2 separate regions of the Homo sapiens genome follow, and region 2 is linked to region 1. The links are contacts of gene promoters, found by promoter capture Hi-C in human tissues and cell types (Jung and others, 2019). All regions are on one chromosome and are shown on one strand. The core of a region is centred on a gene start or on the middle of the fragment in contact, and the rest is flanking DNA. Distances in the headings are between cores, read along the strand shown.

Evidence for each region. Contacts are between HindIII fragments. The study calls those that stand out against the background at their distance.
Region 2: a contact is called between a fragment that was not itself captured here and the fragment with the promoter of SRL in region 1, in 2 of the 25 tissues and cell types used here (aorta and pancreas).

Annotation. Positions count from the first base shown.
Region 1 is chr16:4,239,299-4,243,990 of GRCh38, forward strand. It overlaps SRL (sarcalumenin), which reads right to left and starts at 2,782. Exons shown (of 6, transcript NM_001098814.2): 1 at 2,709-2,782. The coding sequence starts at 2,769. The HindIII fragment of the contact is 19,223 bases long and covers 1-4,692 here.
Region 2 is chr16:4,157,730-4,162,421 of GRCh38, forward strand. No RefSeq gene overlaps it. Among named protein-coding and RNA genes, the nearest start is that of ADCY9, 44 kb to the left of the region's middle. The HindIII fragment of the contact is 4,692 bases long and covers 248-4,692 here.

The DNA.
Region 1 (4,692 bases), core at 1,532-4,031:
ACCAGCCCCTTGCCATTGGGGTGGCCGGGTGGGGCCAGGGCAGATGGGCAAGTCTGAAGCTAGGGCTGGAGGTGGAGGAAGGATGAGATGGACAGGAATCCCCAGATCCCCAATCTCCGTATCAAGCAACAAGAGGGACAACAGGAAGCAAAGAGGTCCCAAATTCTGCCTTTAGCAGTAAACACCAATGGCTTAAACCCGAAGAAATGAAATGCTTTCTCAGCAGACTTCGCTCTCCAGGGAAACCAAAAGCATAGCTCTTCGCCCTGCAAACTAGGGAAACTCCCCCAGGACGGTCTTATCCACTGCACCCTTTCTCCTCCTTTCACACTCACCGTACAGGGAGAGAGGGGCTTGGGAGTGCAGGCAGGGTCTGTCACAGAGAGACGGGCTGAGGAAAGGAGAGGACCCTGGCCCGGGTGTGCCTGTCACTGACGCGCTGTCTGACCTCGGAAAAGTTTTCCTGTTTCTCTGGGTTTCCTTCCCTTCCCTGGATGGTGGGGAGACCGATCAAATCATTGCTAGGGGCGTTTCCCACTGCTTTAAGGAGGAACAGCCCCAAGCCAGGACTCCCAAAGAGGAGGGCCCAGTGGGTGGTACAAAGGCCTGAGTGCAGCAGCAGGTCGGGAGGTGGAAACCGGGTAAGGCCCCACCTGGCTGCTCCTTCCCCGTCCTGGCATGGGCACGGGCGACGGGTGGTTGGTAACAGAGGGGCGCTTGTCTCCTCACAGGGAGGCGAGAAGGAGGGCTGCAGAGCCCACCACCCCAGCCAGAGCTGCACACGAGCAACAAGGAGGAGAAGCCGGAGGAGAAGCTCTGTGGGGTCCCTGGCCTAGGAAGCAGATGGGAGTGGTGAGCGAGAATATCTGCCGCCACCCAGCCAAGGAGCAAGCATGATAGGGAGGGAAGTTAGCACACAGCGGAGAGATGAGGGAAAGAGGTCAGGAGCCAAGATGTGACCTTTGGGTGGGGTGGTATTTACCGGGGTGGCACAATTCTGAAGGGGAAATCACCCAGTAGGAAGGACTGTCATGATGGGGGCGTGAGGAAGCCACCTTGTGGGTTAGAACCTGCCGGTGGATGCAGGAGGAGGCCTATTCTGGGGTATACAGTCCACAGTGGGGCAGAGTCCTGATAAAATCCACCACAGTGGATGAAACCCACAGCCCAAGTGCTGAGCAGGAGCAGGGACAGAGGGAAGCTTTACGCCGGAGGTTGGGCCAGGGGCAGACGCACGCTGTGGGACCCAGGAAGGAAAGACAGCAGAGAGAAGGGACCTTTGCACAAGCACCTGCCTGCGTCCTTTCCCCACGACAAGAGCCCCCAGCGAGGCCTGCAGAACATTCCAGATGACCAGTTCCCTCGGTGGGAGGAAAGATAAAGGATGTCCCTAAAAGGCCAAAAATTCCTGGGGCCCAGTGTGTAGCAGCCCAGCAGCTGGGGCTGGGGGGCAGCACAGGAGCGGCCACGAAGGGAGAGGGTGGCAGCGGCTTGGGGCTCCGGATCCAATTACGCGGCTGTTTCCATACTTAGCCGCCTGACAGCCGCCTGGAATACTCAGCACTCAAGCCGCTGCAGCCCTGCAGAGCCCAAATTAACTCAAGGACAGACAAGGGCAGGGCCCAGCAGCACATGCAGTGGCTGGAGCCCCCCACCTTACATCTTGAGTCCCCGAGAAATAGCTTTTGTTCCCACCCACTGCCTGCTCTCCCTGCAGGGACTGTGCCCCTGCAACCCCCTATTCAACCTCAAAGACCTGAGAGGCTGGACTCTGGGCCTCTCCAGTCCCAGGTACGGACCTAGGCTCAGAGCCCAGCTTGGGGGAAGACTGCCGAGTCATGAAAAGACTCGGTGGGCAGTCCGGATCCTAGGGGGATCCCCGGAGCACCTCCCTAAAAGCATTCCCTCGGGGAACCTGGCCTCAGGAACCTTAGGAACAAGAGAGGTGGCAAAACAATCTGGCATCTCCTCCATAGCCTATAGATAACCCCCATGCTGCAACCCAAGCCACCACCTCTGCTACCCAAAGTGCTGAGATGTCAAAGGGAAGCCTCAGCACACAGAGCCAAGCCCCTTTTCTGATGGAAGCCCCCACCCCGAGCAGAGGCTCTACTCCAGAACGGGCCCCGTTCCTCTTCTGAATTGCATCCAATGCTGTTTCCAGCCCAACCGCCAACTCTATTTCCGATCTTATCCCAAACCAATTCCAATTCTATCTCACTGCTCCCAAAACGGTCCCCACCTTTGCCCACTGTATCCCCTTCTGTCCACGCAAACCCAGTTCTCTTACCCGAGTGGGGCCTCCGCCTTATATCCCACCAGGTGGGAGGGTCACCTCAACGACCTCCAGCTCCCAGACTGTGCTATTTTGTCCGTCTCAGAGGCTCCCCCGTCTCGACTTTGAGGGCCCTCTTTCCCACATCTACTGGCCAGACTCCTCTCTGACCCTGGCTCACAGCTCAGCTCTGTTTGCCGTTCCCACTTCCTCTGGCCTTCCTGAGGGCCCCGCAACTGTGCTGCTATTCTCCAGCACCCAGCTCTTTCTCTGAGGCCCCAGGCCCGGGGAAAAGAGAAGGGTAAGAAGACACCAGCCAAGAGCCAGGGTTTGCCATCAGCCCCGACCCCCTACCCAACCCATGGTAGACAGAAAACCTTGGAGGAAGCGTGGGGGACCAGTCTGGGCTGGGTCATGCTGGGAGGGGCCCTACCTGCTTGTCCTGAGAACAGGAGCGAGGCCAGGAGGCAGCCGAGCAGGACCAGCGCCCTCATGGTGACTGCCAAGAGAGCCCAGCTGCTCCTCGCCTCTATTTATACGGCCGGCCGTGGCAGCAGGCGGTGGAGGGGGGAGAGGGGTCACACAGTCACCAGGGCAACTAGGAGGGTGTGATGGGGAAGAAGCCCGGACCCCAGAAGGCTGTGCAGAGGCTCAGGCTGCGCCACTGCTGTCCCAGCTGCCAGGCCCCAGAAGGCAGGGCCGTGGCTGGATTCTCTTCCCCCGAACCCCTGCAGCCCTGGGATCACATGACATGGGTCACAGGGCGTGGGTGACAGGCATAAAATGGAGCATCCCTTGGGCTCAGGCGGTGGAGCTGGGAAGCTGAGTCTTCCCAGAACTTGCAATAACTTGACCTGAAGTCTCGGCAGGTTAAGGACCTTGACACGCCTGCACTGGAAGGAGGAAGTTGTAAGGCCACGCAAAAGAAATCCTATTTAACAGCCACTGATCCACATGCTAGAGAGTGGTCAGCTACGGCAAACCCGCAACATGTGACCTCTGAGGTCCAAGGCTGCAGCCCTGGAACAACCTTCCCAGCCTCTGGAAGAGAGAGAGCACAGACCAGAGGGAGAGGGGCACACTGAGACACAAGCTGAGGCTACGGTGTAAACTGGAGGATGGAGCAACAGATATCCATTTCCAATGGCCCAGGGGTTCCAGAACATTCAGTCACCTCTGCAAAGTGCTTTTTTGTTTATTTGTTTTTGATAGAGGATCTCGCTCTGTCACCCAGGCTGGACTGCAGTGGCACAATCATCACTCACTGCACTCGACCTCCCAGGCTCAATCAATCCTCCCAACTCAGCCTCCCAAGTAGCTAGGACAGTAGTGCCACCATGCTGTACTAATTTTTTAAAATTTTTTGTAGATGGCCCAGAGAGCCAGTTGTAAGAAGCCAAGGGAAAGCAGACACTTGCTTGTCTGGTCGGGGTACAGTGTCACTGTGTGGGGAAGAGGTAGAAGCCAGCCTTGGAGGAAAGGAACTAAATCAGGGCCAGGCACAGTGGCTCACACCTGTAATCCCAGCACTTTGGGAGGCCGAGGCGGGTGGATCACCTGAGGTCAGGAGATTGAGACCAGCCTGGCCAACATGGTGAAACCCCATCTCCACTAAAAATACAAAAATTACTGGGTGTGGTGGCGGGTGCCTATAATCCCAGCTCCTCAGGAGGCTGAGGCAGGAGAATCACTTGATCCCAGGAGGCGAAGGTTGCCATGAGCCAAGATTGCACCACTGACTCTAGCCTGGGCAACAGAGCGAGACTCTGTCTCAAAAAAAAAAAAAAAAAAAAAAAGAATTAGGCATCTGGTAGGCACTTGACTTTTTTTTTTTTTTTAATCTTTTTTAAGAGACAGGGTCTCTGTCACCCTGGCTGGAGTAGTGACACGATCATAGCTCACTGCAGCCTTGAACTCCTGGGCTCAAGCCACCCTCTCACCTCAACCTCCGAGGGGCTGGGAATACAGGTGTGCACCACATCTGGCTAATTTTTTTGTTTTTTGCAAACATGGTCTTCCTATGTCACTCGGGCTGGTCTCCAACTCCTGGGCTCAAGCAATCTTCCTGTCTCGACCTCCCAAAGCACTACGATTACAGGCATGAGCTACTGCTTTTTCAAAGACAAGGTCTTGGGACTTTTCCTCTTGGAAGTCCCCTCTCTCTCACTAAGGAGCTGTTTTTCTTTCTCTTTCTTTTGCCTGTTAAACCTCTGCTCCTAAACTCCTCATGTGTGTCTGTGTCCTAAATTTTCTTGGCGTGAGACAATGAACCCCAGGTATTTACCCCAAACAATGTAGCTGCTTCATGTTGGGGACCTCATCCGGGATCCCAAGGTACAACACTCATCAAAACGAGTCAAGAAAACTTATTGTGAACTATTTATGGCCTTTAATAATTGAATAAGGTATACTCCTGT
Region 2 (4,692 bases), core at 1,344-3,843, 82 kb before region 1:
TTGCTGCATAGCTGCTTCTTGGACTCTTTCTTGGTCAAATAAAAGGGCCAGCCCAGGCACGGTGGCTCACGCCTGTCATCCCAGCACTTTGGGAGGCCGAAGTGGGCGGATCACCTGAGGTCAGGAGTTTGAGACCAGCCTGGCCAACATGGTGAAACCCCATCTCTACTAAAAATACAAAAATTAGCTGGGCATGGTGGCGTGCGCCTGTAATCCCAGCTACTCAGGAGCCTGAGGCAGGAGAATCGCTTAAACCCAGGAGGTGGAGACTGCAGTGAGCCTAGATCGCACCACTGCACTCCAGCCTGGGTGACAAAGTGAGACTTCATCTCAAAGAAAAAAAAAAAGGCAAATAAAGGGGCCAATGCAGGGAGGTTCATGGCAAAGACAGGGAAGGCTCTGGGGACATCTTTCCTACATAACCTGAATCTATGTTCATCGTCATGAAAAGAAGCTCCAGGTGGAAAAAAAAAACACTGGGCTGAGCACCTCTGCCCCTGTTTCTCCTGGGTGACAACTTGCCTGGAATTTCTCTCCCTTTGAATGTCAGTGCCACTACCGGGGACACCTCCGTGTGCATTGCTCCCGTCACACCCTGCGCCAAGAGGCAACAAAACCCTTTCATTGCCACCCTCATGAGTAAAATAAAGAGAAAGAGATTCCCGCCCTGGGAACAGCCTAATTTCTCCAGCTGGTTTCTGGTCTGAGACATTGTCAGATGGTTTGTATTCCAAATGAAATGAACGAGCCAACTGTATTATCATAGTGGCATGCAGAAAATAGCCACATCTTTGAGACAGCATTACCCATGGATACTAACTGGATGATGTTTGGTCACAAGGGTGAGAAAATCTGGAGATGAAAAGAAGATGCCAGCCTGGGCAACATAGTGAGACCCCATCTCCATAAAAATAAACAAAACATTAGTCAGGCGTTGTAGTGCACGCCTGTAGTCCCAGCTACTCAGGAGGCGGAGGTTGGAGGATTACTTGAGCCCAGGAGGTCAATGTTGCAGTGAGCTATGACTGCACCACTGCACTCCAGCCTGGGTGACAGAGCAATAAATACCCTGTCTCAAAAAAAGAAGAAGGAGAAGGAGAAGAAGGAGGAGAAGAAAGAGGAAGGAAGGAAGGAAGGAAGGAGAAAGAAAAAGAAAGAAAAGGAAAGAAAGAGAAAGAAAGAAAGTGAAAGAAAAGAAAGAAAGAAAGAGGAAAGAAAGAAAGAAAGAAAAAGAAAAGGAGAGAAAAAGAAGGTGGAGTTGGGCCAGGCGCAGTGGCTCACATCTGTAATCCCAGCACTCTGGGAGGCCGAGGTGGGTGGATCACTTGAGGTCCGGAGTTCAAGACCAGCCTGGCCAAGGTGGTTAAACCCCACCTCTACTAAAAATACAAAAATTAGCCAGGCGTCATGGCATGGGCCTGTAGTCCCAGCTACTCAGGAGGCTGAGGCAGGAGAATCGCTTGAACCCGGGAGGCAGAGGTAGCACCACTGCACTCCAGCCAGGGCGACAGAGCGAGACAGCATCTCAAAAAAAACAGAAGAAGAAGAAGAAGGAGGAGGAGGAGGAGGAGGAGGAGAAGGAGAAGGAGAAGAAGAAGTTGGAGAGGAGAGGGGATGGAGTATCTCCCCTTTGCACAAGGACTGAGTTACAGGCCAGACTTTCCAAGACTATGTAGAGCTCTCTAGGACTCCTGACTTCAGAGAATAAGATCAGGGCTGTGGCAGAGGAACAGTCTAAGAGGCCGAGGGGACAGAATCGCCCACCTTGTAGCCCAGGGATCGAACCCCTTTAAACCACTGACCTTGTCCCTATGCAGATCTGGGCCAAGGACTGTGTGTAGGCAGAGGAGGCCCGTAGTTCAGACCAAGGGGAAGATTTTGCAAACTTGTTCTTAACTGTCACTACTTATGTGCAAGGATTCTGAAGCTTGACAAGCAGCATTGTTTCCTCCCTGAGCAATCAGAAATCAATAAAAGCAGAACTCTCTGTACTTAGGAGATCTGCGTTGGTGTGGGCCGACACGCAGCAGAACATGGCGGAGCGGGTGGGCAAAGTGATGGAGAGCCCTAGCCACGTTCCAGATGGTGCAGGAAGGGTGTTGCAGCTGAGCACAAACAGGGGAGAAAGCTGCTCCAACAAAAACCGCCGGAGCCACATGTGGGGAAAGTCAGACATTTGCGGTGCACGTGGACGGAGGCCCTCTGGAGAGGGCTGCGGTTGGTATCCGTCATCCCCGCTCCTCATCAGCAGCTGATGCTCTGGCGACAGAGGCTGTTGGCTGGGCTAGATTGGACGCGTGGAGCTTAAATGAAGCTGCCCAGGCAAGGGAGCTAGAAGCTCTGGCTCTGCTGCTAATTGGCCATGAACCTAGGGCCAGTTATTTCTTGTCTCTGGATTCATTTCCTCATTTTGTTTTTTGGGGTGTTTGTTGGTTTTGAGATGGACTCTCACTCTGTTGCCCAGGCTGGAGTTCAGTGGCGTGATCTTGGCTCACTGCAACCTCTGCCTCCTGGCTTCAAGTGATTCTCATGCCTCAGCCTCCCGAGTAGCTGGGACTACGGGCATGTGCCACCACACCCAGCTGATTTTTGTATTTGTAGTACAAATGGGGTTTCACCATGTTGACCAGGATGGTCTTGATCTCTTGACCTCGTGATCTGCCCACCTTGGCTTCCCAAAGTGCTGGGATTACAGGTGTGATCTACTGTGCCCGGCCTAATTTTTGTATTTTTAGTAGAGACAGGGTTTCTCCACGTTGGCCAGGCTGGTCTTGAACTCCTGACCTCAGGTGATCCACTGGCCTCAGCCTCTCAAACTGCTGGGATTACAGGCATGAGCCATGGCACCCAGCCATTTCCTCATTTTGAAAAGGACAGAGAGGAGGTGTGAAGGGGCGATGTTCTCTTCGGTAACACCTGAGGTCTCTGGTGGTATCACTGTTGGAAAGGGGCCTTGACACCCTCCACCCCAAACTCTACTAAAATGTGCTTCTAGCAACTCTAAACTTAAATCATTTGTGATCTTTCCTCTAGCTTTATTAGTCACTGATCTTTCTCACTGGGCCAGGAAATAAGCTTGCAAGGGGGCACTCCTCCAGATTTCCCAAGGAGAGTACCTCTCGGTTGTAAATTCACCAAAAATGTGGAACATCCCCTCCTACTGGGTAAAGTTGGCCAATGAAGTGGCAACCTTTGCTACCATCACTGCTACTGTTTTAGGTCTATTTTCCAAGAAAAAGCATATTAAACCAGTTTTATTGAGACATTACAGAACATAAAATTCACCCATTTAAAGTGTACAATTCAATGGTTTTTAGTATGTTCCTAGAATTGTATAGCCATCACCATCACCATCTAATTCACTACATTTTACTATTTCCAGAAAGAGGCCCTGCCCATTACTAGTCACTCTCATTTTGCCCCAGCCCTAGGCAACCACCAATCTACTTCCTCTCTCTAGAGATGTAAAACATAGCATTTTGCCCCGTTAGGGACATTTCCTACAACTACGTATAGCATCATCATATAGCACTGACTAATCAAGAACTCATGACCCATATATAAATAGCCAACAAAAACATGAAAATGTGCTCAACATCACCGATCATTAGGGAAATGCAAATCGAAAACTACAATGAGATACCATCTTGCATCCATCCGGGTGGCTACTGTCAAAAAAAACAGAAAATAACGAGTGTTGGCCAGGATGTGGAGAAATCGGAACCCTTGTACATTGTTGGTGGAAATGTAAAATAGTGCAGCTGCTGTGAAAAAAAGCATGGTGGTTCCTCGAAAAACTAATAATGGAACTATTTATCAGCGATTCCACTTCCGGGTATATACCCAAAAGAATGGAAAGCAGGGCCTCTAGGAGGTATCTGTATACCCTGTCCCTAGCATTATTCTCAATAGCCAACTGTCCATCAACCCAACTGTCCATCCACAGATGAATGAATAAACAAAATGTGGTCTATACATACAAAAAAAATTCTTTTATTTTTTATTTTTTTGGCCAACATGGTAAAACCCCATCTCTACTAAAAAGTAAAGAATTTTTTTTTTTTTTTTTTTTTTGAGGCAGAGTCTCGCTCTGTCGCCCTGGCTAGAGTGCAGTGGCACGATCTCGGCTCACTGCAACCTCTACCTCCCAGGTTCAAGGAATTCTCCCACCTCGGCCTCCTGAGTAGCTGGATCACAGGCATCTGCCACCACGCCTGGCTAATTTTTATACTTTTAGTAGAGACGGGGTTTCACCATGTTGGCCAAGCTGGTCTCAAACTCCTGAACTCAAGTGATCCGCCCACCTCAGCCTCCTAAACTGCTGGGATTACAGGCGTGAGCCACCACGCCTGGCCAAAAAGTAAAGAAATTCTGTGGCCAGGCGTGGGGGCTCATGCCTGCAATCCCAGCACTTTGGGAGGCCAAGGCAGGCGGATCACTTGAGCTTAGGAGTTCAAGACCAGCATCCTGGGCAACAAAGTGAGACCTTGTCTCTAGAAAAAATACAAAAATTAACTGGGCACGGTGGTGCACACCTGTAGTCCCAGCTACTCAAGAGGCTGAGGTAGGAGGATGGCTTGAGCCTGAGGGACAGAGGTTCCAGTGAGCCAAGATCACACCACTGCACTCCATCCTGGGCGAAAGAGCCAGACCCTGTCTCAAAAAATAACCAAAAAAGAAACAAACAGGCTG